Regions from separate parts of the Homo sapiens genome. Here regions 1, 2 and 3 are each linked to region 4. The links are contacts of gene promoters, found by promoter capture Hi-C in human tissues and cell types (Jung and others, 2019). All regions are on one chromosome and are shown on one strand. Each heading gives the region's core, a stretch centred on a gene start or on the middle of the fragment in contact. The rest is flanking DNA. Distances are from core to core; before and after follow the strand shown. Region 1 overlaps ALPK1 (alpha kinase 1). Region 2 overlaps ALPK1 (alpha kinase 1). Region 3 overlaps ALPK1 (alpha kinase 1). Region 4 holds the start of NEUROG2 (neurogenin 2).

Region 1 (2,700 bases), core at 152-2,651, 100 kb before region 4:
CTCATCTAAAATAAAGGTCTCAACTCTGTGCCGAATTTGAGTGTGGAGTCTGAATTTACTCTGCCCACAAAGCAGGAAACCTGCCATCAAATAATTAAGAAAAAAAAATTGTTCAGGACTGAAATTTCTGGGCCCCAGGAGATCAAATGCAAAACTATACTCTAGAGAAGTATCCACACCCAGGGCCATGGGAATCTCACAGGAAAATATTCTTGGCTAAAGATGACCTTACATTAAAATTATAAGCAACAGGCTGGGCAGCGGCTCACGCCTGTAAACCCAGCATTTTGGGAGGCCAAGGCGGGTGGATTACCTGAAGTCAGGAGTTCGAGACCAGCCTGGCTAACATGGTGAAACCCCATCTCTATTAAAAATACAAAAAATTAGCCTGGTGTGGTGGCAGGCGCACGAAATCCCAGCTACTTGGGAGGCTGAGGCGGGAGAATTGCTTGAACCCAGAAGGCAGAGGTTGCAGTGAGCTGAGATCATGCCATTGCACTCCAGCCTGGGTTACAGTGAGACTCTGTCTCAAAAAAAAAAAGAAAGAAAGAAAACAAAAAAGAAAAAAAAAGAGAAAGTAATAGTAATTGATGGGGAATTCCCCACAGAACAGGCAGCGCATGCAAGTTTGTTTTTATATAGACAGGATACAAGAATTCAACTACAAAACCATGGCTGAAGAGCACAGAACACCCTCCCGGTTGGTGAGATAAGCTTTTGGCATTTCACCTGCTAGTAAGGGTGCCCAACTGCCAACCAGACTGCTTCAATGGGGTGAATGAGATAAAATAAATCCTTAGAAAAATGAAGTAAAAAACAAAGATACAAAAATGCAAGCTTAATGTATTTATTATCATCAGCTTCAAGAGTTATACAATTATTTTGGCAAATCATAATAAAAATTTCTAAATGCTCACTCTCAGTGTTTCACTTAATCTCCTCGATTCAGGCTAGCAACAAAAAGACACAAATAGTAGTGCTCCCCAAACTTCAGTGTGCTCTGAATCCCCTAAAGATCTTATTAAAATGCAGATTCCGATTCAGTAGATCTCTGGTACGGCCTGAGATGCTGCTGTTCTGTGAACCTTGCTTGACTAGCAAGGGATCATCTAAAGATTCTAACCACGTGCCTGGCTGCCCACCTGGGACTAATGACCACTAACAACCTTAAAATCAAGGTACATTTTCTACAGCCAGTTTCTCAGATGTTCCAACCCCATAACTGACCTACCGGAAATGTACGCCTGCAATACCATTAACAGTGGGGGAGAAAATTATGGAACTGGAAACTGTATTTAAAAAAAATGTTGAAAATGAAGCACAGAGAGCTAAGTAGATGAAAATAGGGAAGTTTAAAAAACTCAAAGAGATTTAAAAAAACACAGAAGCATAGGAAGACTTCTAGCGGGACTAACTAGACTCAGAATTGGAGAAAATTATGTCTTTACACTGAAGGAGTATATCTAGCCTTGGGCAAAAAAGTTTTAGGCCAGGCATGGTGACTCACACCTGTAATCCCAGGACTTTAGGAGGCCAAGGTGGGAGGGATCGCATGAGCCCAAGAGTTCAAGACCAGCCTGGGCAACACAGGATGATCTCATCTCTACAAAAAATAAACAAAATCAACCAGGTGTGGTGACATGTAGCTGTAGTCTCAGCTACTCCAGAGGCTACGGTGGGAGGATCTCTTGAGACCAGGAGATTGAGGCTGCAGTGAGCCATGATTACACCACTGCACTCCAGCCTGAGTGACAGAGCAAGACCCTGTCTCAAAAAAAAAAAAAAAAAACTTTTTAAATAAATTCAAGACCATACCTAGTGTGGTAAACTATAGAAAATCATACAATAAGAAAGTCTTAAAGAAACAGACAGAAAAGACAGATTAATATAGGAAGTATATTTAGACTAACAAAAAGTATCTTATCAATAATAAGAGTCCAGAAAGCAAGAGAATCTCCAAAAAATTGAGAGGACATAGGTTTTGACCTCGGATTTTATACCTAGCAAAATTGTCATTCAAAAGTGAGGATAAAATAGACATTTTCAGACCTGATTGGCTAAAAATAAATTATTCTCAAGACAGCTCTCTCATTCACACACACACTCACATACACACTAAAGGATGCATTTTTCTAAGAAGAAAATTGAACTTAGAATGAAGAAGTGGAGAGTAAAAAAAGATGATGACTAAAGAATGTGGTAAATACATTTAGCCATATAAGATTAAAATAAAAGGAAATTATATGGCAATATCACTTATATAATTAATAAGGTGCAAAAAATCTTGAAATATTACCAAATTGACCAACATTGTATTAAATTAATAATGCATTACAATCAAGGAAGGTTTATTCCAGATACATAAGGATAGTGGGTTTTATTTTTGTTTTTATTTTTTGGGGGACACGATCTCACTCTGTTACCCAGGCTAGAGTACAGTGGTGCAATCATGGGTCACTGCAGCCTCAACCTTCCAGGCCAAGCAATCCTCCCACTTTAGCCTTCCAAGTAGCTGGGACTACAGGCATGTGCCACCATGCCCAGCTAACTTGTTTATTTTCTGTAGAGTCGAGGTCTCTCTACGTTGCCCAGACTGGTCTTGAATTCCTGGGCTCAAGCGATCCTCCTGCCTCAGCTTCCCAAAGTCCTGGGATTATAGGCATGAGTCACCGTGCCTGGCTGATAGTTAAGTATTTTTAA
Region 2 (2,700 bases), core at 201-2,700, 78 kb before region 4:
AGAATGGAGTGGCAGAGTTCAATATATTTCTGATCAGAAGAAAATAACAGCAAGAGAGCAAAAACAATATTTGAATAGATACTTTCTGGTAATTTTTCAGAATTGCCAAAATACACTAATCTTGAAATACAGAAATCACAGTGAATCCTAAGGACAGAAGGGAAAGGAGGAAAGAAGCTGGAAGGCAGGTAGTCAGACATCCTGTGTACCTAGTTTGACTAGGTACACAGTAGTCAAACTCCAAACACTAAGGACAAAGAAACCATTTTAAAAGCAGTCAAAGAAAATAGACAGATTACGTACATAGAAATGTCAATTTGACCTACAGCTGGTTTCTTCATAGCAACAATGGAATTCAGAGACAATGGAAGTCATATACTTAGTGCAACTCTCTTTTATGGAGGAAGACAAAATAAAGACATTTGCAGCTTAAAAGGAAAAATGACCATGGCAGTTTACCATGAACAAATCCTCACTAAAGAAAAATGATCCCAGAAAAAAAATGGTACAAGATGAGAGAAGATATGGACTTCTGTTCTCAGATTGATGATCCCCTGCCTAAGACTGGAGGTCTTCTGGCAGAATGTTCAGGAAATGCTCCAGTAGCCAGTACTCACAGGTTCACTCTCTTGTGCACACCTCTGGTATCAGTCAACAAAATTCTGAATTAGTTCAAACCCTCTATAGGTCTTGCGGTCTCTCCATAGAAGAACTGCCTAAAGCACTGGTATGGCATCCCTATTACAACAACTGCTCCTCTGCAGGCTGCCTTCTGAGGCCATACTGCAGCCTCCACTATCAGATTTCCTTTCTGGTCTTCAGGAGTCTGAATGGCCAAAACCACAGCCTCCTTAAGTTCCATTATTATATGGGATTCAGAAATTTCTGGAGAGAGTTTACTCTGGTTGAAGTCTATGACTCAAACAATTCCCCTTGATTTTTGGTGGTCACTCTGGGCACATGTGAAATTACTCACAAATTCACACCAGTTTACAGCAAGTATAAACTACAGTAAAGTGCAGCACTGTTTTGCTTCTTTCCGCATGTAATCATTTACTGCCTTGTGTCTTCCCACACCAACTGTGCTATTAGCTCTTGAAATATACAAATCATGTCTCACACTTTCTTCAAGTCACTCAAGACTAGCACAGTGTTATGCACATAATAGGTATTGACGGATAATAAGTATTTATAGGAATGAAGTAATCATAAAAGGAAGGGATAGAGGAAGGCTTCAGATTGATGAACTGACTATATAAGGCCACACTGCAGGGAGTGGAAGGTTTTGACTCCAGAATCCATGCACATTCCAGTATACTTTGCTGACCCCCTTGTCTTACCAGAGGTCTGGAGAACTTCTACATTAAGTGACACTTTCCCTTTATAATCAGTATCATTCTGGGTCAGCTAGAATGAGTGTGTTCCATTGTTCAAGTAGCTCTTACAAAATTATTTGAATCTTGAGATAAGTCAAAATAATTAATATTCAGTCTAAGGCAGAGAAAGAGATCTTTCAAGCATTTCTGCATATGTCTTTTGATCTCCTCTCTCTTACTCCATAGTAAGTAAGACCACTTTTGCATTTTGTTGTGTGGATTTTCTTTGTTCATAGGTATGTTGGGAAAGACTATAAGGAGCAGAAGGGGCTCTGGCACCACTTCACTGATGTGGAGCGACAGATGACCGCACAGCACTATGTGACAGAATTTAACAAGAGACTCTATGAACAAAACATTCCCACCCAGATATTCTACATCCCATCCACAATACTACTGGTAAGATTATCCTGAACACATCATTTGGATCTTCCAAATCACACTTGAATATCAATTAATCTGAGTATCTGGTTCCACATAATCAGGCTAGCATTTTTAGCAAACTATCCTTGTGTGTTGTCCCTGTACTTTCCAAGAGAGAAAGAACCCTAAAGATTTATCTAGTACAAACTATCCCCTCAACATGATACATAAATCCCATTTTACATCTGTTGGCCTCACCCCTTGCAACCAAGTGATTGCTAAGTCAAAGCTTACACACCTTCAGCAAGAAAAAATAATTGTTCTCCTTTCACTTTCAAGTAATCCTAATTGTTAGAAAGTTCTTAGACTTAGCCCAAATCTATCTTTATCTAACTTCTGTCCATGGATTACAGCTCTCCCTCCTGGGACCATGAAGACCAGTCTCTCTTCACTAACATACCCCTTTCAATAGATAAAGGCTAATATTCCCATTGAGTTTTCTCTTCTTTGGATCAAGAATGCCTTGCTACCCCGAATATATTAGATCCTGAGTGCATTCATACTTGCAATAATTTTTTCATTGGCCAGAGACATTTTTAGACCCGTCTTTTCCTAATCATAATAGTAATTATCATCCATTTCATACCTTCTTTATGTCACTCACTGTGCCAGGCAGTTTGCAAACCTTAACTCTAACCTTTGAAACAACTCCACAAAGCTGATGTTTTAACCTAGAGTCCCTGAGCATGATCTAACTTCATGTCCTGGTAACCTAGCCTCCAGGACAGGTCACGTCATGGCCTAAATCTTAAGTGAGCAGTTTAATATGTGAATGACAATAAATTTAAGTTCTATGACATGCCACATGCCGTGTTAAGCATTTTACATGCATTTCCTTGCATAATCCCTTTAACAAGCCTAAAAGGTAGTTATAATTATACCTACTTTACCCATGATGAAA
Region 3 (2,700 bases), core at 152-2,651, 120 kb before region 4:
AATAGCCTCACACATCTACCCCACTTCACTCCTCCACATCTCTTCTCCATGCACAGAGGTGTTTGTGCAAACTACAACTCTAGTCTGTCACCCTAGTATGCCTAGGAATGCAAAACTCTGAAATGAGGCCCATGGGCCCTGCCAGGCATAGTCCTTCCCTTGGCTGCCCCTGCTGCATCATCTCCATCTCATGGCCTCCTTTCAGTCCACACTCTTACCGGGATTATTCCATGCACATAGCTGCTCTCCATTCCCGAGACATTCTTCCCTCCCTCCTTTGCCTGATTAATTTCTGTGTATCTTTCCCTTCTCAGCTCACATCTCAGTTCTCAGGGAAGCCTGCCCTGATCTCTGGGACTAAATCAAACTTCCTCAATATAGGCTTGGCTATAAGGTATCACCTTTTCAAAGTTGCAGTTTACATTTGTTTGTGGGGTTTCTTTTACATTTGTTTACATTTGTTTGTGGGGTTTCTGTCTCTCTCTTCTGCTAGCTACAAGCTTCATGAGGTCAGGGCCTTATCTGTGTTCACCATTATATCCCTGACACTTAAAATGCATACCTTCAAAGAACACCCTTGGATGGATGGATGATGGATGGATGGGTGGATGGATGGATGAATGAAACCGTATTAATGTTATTTGAAAAACATGGTGTTTGATGTGCATGTGTGTTGAAATATATATGAGGCTGCCCCATGTGTGGCCCACAGTCAGACAATTGTCTAGGTACTGGTCAGGAGGATAATGCCCATGTATCTCTCAGGGATGGAAGGCATTTAAGTAAATGCCTTAAATGTTTCCTGATAAAGAAATGAAGTAATCACCTGAAGAAGATAATGCTATTTGTTGTGCATATTATAAATTGGAGTGGGGAGATCCTGAGTTTGGGGAGCACACTGAACTGCCAAGGAAAGAATGATTATGTGAGGTCCTGCATAAACGTTAGGCTTGAGAGAAGTGGAAAGAGGAAGCATATCTAAGAGACATTATGAAAAACAACCTAAGGTATGTCATGATTCATGGAATGAGCTAGACTGAGGTAGATTGTATTATTGTTCCCACATATTCACTTTTGCCATGTGACTTGCATGCCTCCCTCTGAAAGGAATATACCTTCCCATGGAGATATTAGGCTAGGCCCTCACAACCTGTCTTAGTCTATGAAATGTGGCTGGAAGTGACATATGCCAGTCCCTAGCAGAAGATTTATGAGCCGTTGTGTTGTTCAGCAATTGGAAGTTTTCCTTTGCCTTGTGAACAAGGTAGGGGCTACTCCCTCAACCTGAGAAGGGCAACAAATGTTGAAGAGAGTGTCAGTGTTACAGCCAAACTGCAGGCCATAAAAAGTATGGACAACAATTGCCAAAACAATTTTGTCATTAAAGGCAATTAAATTTTAGCATTATCACAGTCTTACCATGTATCATGGGTTGAATTGACCCCCCAAATGATGCATTAAAGTCTTATCCCTCGGTACCTCAGAGGACTTTATTTGAAAATAAAGTTATTGTAGATGGAATTAATTAAGTTAAAATGAGGTCATACTGGAGTAGGGTGAGCCCTTAAGCCAGTGTGACTAGTGGCCTTGTGAGAATACCTAGAGACATAGGGTAAATGCCATGTGATGATAGAGGCAGAGATTGGAACCATACAGCTGCAGATCAAGAAGCACAAGGGTTGCTGGCAACATCAGAAGCTAAAAGAAAGGCAGGGAACAGATGCTCCTGTTAGAGCATGGCCCCACTGACGTCTTGATTTCAGACTTCCAGCCTCCAGAAGTGAGGAATGATACATCTATATTCTTTTAAATCACCCAGTTTATGGCCTTCTCAGGAAACTAACATACCAAGTGCATATGTGTAAGACAATGAAGCAAGAAAGCTTTCAAATGACTTCTAGATTCTTAGTATGTAAGCCTGTGCCTCTATAGAACAGAAGGCAAAATAAACCCCAGTCCACAGGAAAAAAAAACAGAATTTGTTCAATGGAATATTTCAACAGAAATGCTTCTAAAAGGAAAAGAAGAATAGGCTCTAGTATCTACTAAGTTATTTTATTCTTAAACATAACTAGAGAAAATAGATTGGGAAAAACATATCACTCTTCCCACTTCATCAGTTTGTGGTAAATAGTACAGTCAAGAGCCCACTAAATATTTCCATTTGGATGTCCTAGATGTCTCAAGTTCAATAGGTCCAAAACTGAACTCATAATCTCTCAACTTCTTCTCCCTCCACCAACCAAACTTTATCCACCCCCAGCGATCACCATATCGGTAAATGGCACTACAAACCACCCAGTTCCCCAAATCAAGACCTTGGCTTTAACTTCCCCCCAACCCTCATATCTCATTTGTTACCAAATTCTAATAATTTTCCTCTTAGATGTCTCTCAAACACATTTTCCTTTCCCTAATCCTACTGTAACTATTCTGGTTCCAAGCATATCATCTCATTCTTAGAATATTATTATTATTAGGTTAGTGAAAATGTAATTGTGGTTTTTGCAATTAAAAGTAATTTCATTTATCTGAGACAGTGTATGTCTCTGTTGCCCAGGCTGCAGTGCAGTACAGTGGTACAATTTTGGCTGACTGTAACCTCTGCTTCCCAGGCTCAAGCCAACCTCCCACTTCAGCCTCCCAAGTAGCTGGGACTACAGGTGCATGTCACCATGCCTGGCTAATTTTTTATTTTTT
Region 4 (2,763 bases), core at 39-2,538:
CCCGGGCTCAGCAACACTGCCTCGGAGAAGAGCGCCCCCGGCAGGCCCCCGCCGCCGCCCCCGCAGTGATCCGCCAGGCGCAGGGTCTCGGTGAGTGCCCAGATGTAGTTGTGGGCGAAGCGCAGGGTCTCGATCTTGGTGAGCTTGGCGTCCTCGGGGAACGTGGGGAGCACCTCGCGCAGCGCGTCCAGTGCCGCGTTGAGGTTGTGCATGCGGTTTCGCTCGCGGTTGTTGGCCTTCAGTCTACGGGTCTTCTTGATGCGCTGCACCGTCTCGGCCGTCTTGGCGCCTCGGGAGACGGCCCGCGCCCGGGAAGGGCGCCGTTTGCAATCGTGTACCAGACCCAGCAGCCGTGCGGGCCGGCAGCCCTCCGCACCCGCAGCCACGCCGCCCCGCGCCCCCTGCCCGGCCTCAGCCCCGCGCTGCCGACGCGCCCCGCCTGACGCGCCCGGCTCCTCCTCCTCTTCTTCGTCGGCGCTGGATGACAGCGGGGTCAGGGCCGCCAAGGCGGGGGAGGCCGATCCGAGCAGCACTAACACGTCCTCTTCCTCCTTCAACTCCAAGGTCTCGGATTTGACGAACATCCTACCGAAGAGAGAAAGGGGAAAAAGGCAGTGAGGTGTAAGGAAAGAAACAGAGGCGCGATCTTCGTGTCACAGGGGCGTGCTCCGGCGCGCACCCGAGAAGACCAGCTCCGAATGGCGCGGAGCAGGAAGGCGAAGGAAGAAACCCAGGCAGTGCTAACCAAGGTCAGGAGCGCCGCTAGCGCTCGCTGTGACCCTGCTGCCAGTCAGCCGGGTCCTGCCCTCCGCGGGCGGTCCTGCGTTCCCTCCCCGAGAAGGGACTGCGGCCTCCGCGACAAAGATTCTGCGCGGAGCAGAGGGCGTGCGGGTGTGGTTGGACTGAGTGCGGGGAAACCACCTGCGTAGTTGGAAGCGGTGGCTCGAATACTTACTTAGTTGGCTCTAACTGTGCCTCAGCGTTGCTGTGACTTTGGCCTGTGCCGGGAATCTCCGCGCAGCTGCGAGCGCAGCGCCGGGTCCTTCGCCCGGCGTGAAAGCTGCAAGCCCGGCGCTACTGTGGCGCAGCTCCGCGGGGGACCTCTGCGACCGGCGAGTTTGCCAAGAGCCCCGGCGGCGGCGGCGGCGGCCCGCCCGGGTCTCGTGTGTTGTGGTGGTGGTGCGTGTCTGTCTGTCAGTCAGTCCCTGGCCGTGCGGCTCCTGGCACGCGACTCCCAGGCACTCCAGTTAACGCGAAGCTGCTTGTGGTTCAGTGGCTGCGTGTCTGGCACACGACTCTCCTTAAAACCCCTTATATACCACCAAGAAAACAATCAGATCTGCCCCGGGCCCCCTCCTCCCCCGCCACCGCCTCCTCCTCCTGTCAGTCCTGCCCCCCTTCTCCCCCGCTTTTCCCTCCTCTGGCTTATTCTTTTCATTGCATTATCATCATTCATTTCTTCCTCTTTCTTCACCGCCTTTCCCCCTCCCTTGGCCCTGCCATCCATCCTCCTCCTCCCACCACCCCCGCCTCTCTTTTCCCCCTTTATCTAATCAACATAAAATGGTTCTAAAGCTCCTGTTGGAGCTCCGGGCTGCGGCCGGAGCTGGCGAAGCCGCAGCGGCCGCAGAGGCTCAAGCTGCGGCTGTTGTCGCCGCCGCTGTCCATTGTGATTGGTGGCTCGCGCTCGGCTGGAGCGTGCCGCTAATTTATTAATGAATGGAGGTCGCGAGGCGCAGCTGGCCAATCAGGGCGCCCTGGACTCCGGGAGGCCTGCGAGCCACGCGCACCGGAGCCCGCTCCCTTTCAGCAGCTCATTAGGGGCCCGAGCGCTGGGGGCGGATGGGGGGACCCGTGCTACCGCCCCCGCCTTCGTCCTCGCTGCCGCCGAGGCTCCCCCCGCCCGGCGCGCGCGCAGGCACCGCACCCGGCGCTGCCGGCCCTCCTAACTCCCGGGTGATGGGAACTAGGAATTAGTTAATGGGGGTCAGAATCCCGGGGAAAGCAGTTAGCCCTGTGGTGCTGCCGGGCGTCTCTTGGCAAAGCCTCTTAGGGGTTGTATCAAATAGTAAACGATTTTAAAATGGATTCATTTGGTTAGGGGAGGAGAATGGCGTGGATGGAGAGATGTGGACACCTCGTGAACAAGTGTGTTTGGGGTCCGTCGAAACTGGCGTGGGAGAGTGAAGGGAGAGGACACTGGGGATTCAAACAGGCGTCTCTTGGGAGGGGAGGTCGGATAGGGGAGCAGTTGATGAGCTTTTAGAGGATGTGAGAATGAAATCACTCACATGTTAGAGCTGAAAGGATCCCCCTCATTTTACATACAGGAAACTGAGGCTCCGGGCACTGATGCAGGTTTTGCTGGGGTTAACCCAGTTTATAGCCTGGAGGGACAGCAAGGAGGCTTCCTGCGTGGGTGGCAGCGAACCGAGCGGGAGGAGCGGCAGAGCTGCTGCTCCTGCAAGCAAATGCGCTGCGCTGACATTTCTGTGACCTCTGCTCCGCGCTGGGGGGCGTTGTAGGGACAAGGGGCCCATCTTCCCAATTCTGCTTTTCAATGAGAAAAAAGAGCTGAAGGGCTACTGGACCTCGGGGGAAACTTGTTCTCAATTGCTCGTTAGCCCTCCCCACTTTCCCCACGTTCATGCCCACCCTCTTGTCGACATGGGGATGGATCCGGACTTCAGTAGACCGGAGTGGCGTCCCTTGAGATCCCCTTTGCAAATTAACTTTAGGCAAGGCACAGTTGGAGTGTTAGGA

What was found. Contacts are between HindIII fragments. The study calls those that stand out against the background at their distance.
Region 1: a contact is called between a fragment that was not itself captured here and the fragment with the promoter of NEUROG2 in region 4, in 2 of the 25 tissues and cell types used here (mesendoderm cells and neural progenitor cells).
Region 2: a fragment that was not itself captured here is called in contact with the fragment with the promoter of NEUROG2 in region 4 in 2 of the 25 tissues and cell types used here (mesendoderm cells and spleen).
Region 3: a contact is called between a fragment that was not itself captured here and the fragment with the promoter of NEUROG2 in region 4, in 8 of the 25 tissues and cell types used here (H1 embryonic stem cells, IMR-90 fibroblasts, heart right ventricle and 5 more).

The regions. Positions count from the first base shown.
Region 1 is chr4:112,415,105-112,417,804 of GRCh38, forward strand. The region is part of intron 5 of ALPK1 (alpha kinase 1); the gene reads left to right. Among named protein-coding and RNA genes, the nearest start is that of NEUROG2-AS1, 99 kb to the right of the region's middle. The HindIII fragment of the contact is 3,375 bases long and covers 1-2,700 here.
Region 2 is chr4:112,436,872-112,439,571 of GRCh38, forward strand. It overlaps ALPK1 (alpha kinase 1), which reads left to right. Exons shown (of 16, transcript NM_025144.4): 13 at 1,613-1,775. Among named protein-coding and RNA genes, the nearest start is that of NEUROG2-AS1, 77 kb to the right of the region's middle. The HindIII fragment of the contact is 4,969 bases long and covers 1-2,700 here.
Region 3 is chr4:112,390,007-112,392,706 of GRCh38, forward strand. The region is part of intron 4 of ALPK1 (alpha kinase 1); the gene reads left to right. Among named protein-coding and RNA genes, the nearest start is that of ALPK1, 94 kb to the left of the region's middle. The HindIII fragment of the contact is 5,643 bases long and covers 1-2,700 here.
Region 4 is chr4:112,514,892-112,517,654 of GRCh38, forward strand. It overlaps NEUROG2 (neurogenin 2), which reads right to left and starts at 1,289. Exons shown (of 2, transcript NM_024019.4): 1 at 956-1,289; 2 at 1-585. The coding sequence starts at 584. NEUROG2-AS1 (NEUROG2 and ZGRF1 antisense RNA 1) reads left to right here and starts at 488. Exons shown (of 4, transcript NR_161159.1): 1 at 488-749. It overlaps LOC124900760 (a long non-coding RNA gene), which reads left to right and starts at 1,914. Exons shown (of 2, transcript XR_007058231.1): 1 at 1,914-2,148. RefSeq lists silencers at 1-120, 381-450, 1,771-2,050 and enhancers at 2,060-2,763, 2,191-2,290, 2,391-2,510. The HindIII fragment of the contact is 15,153 bases long and covers 1-2,763 here.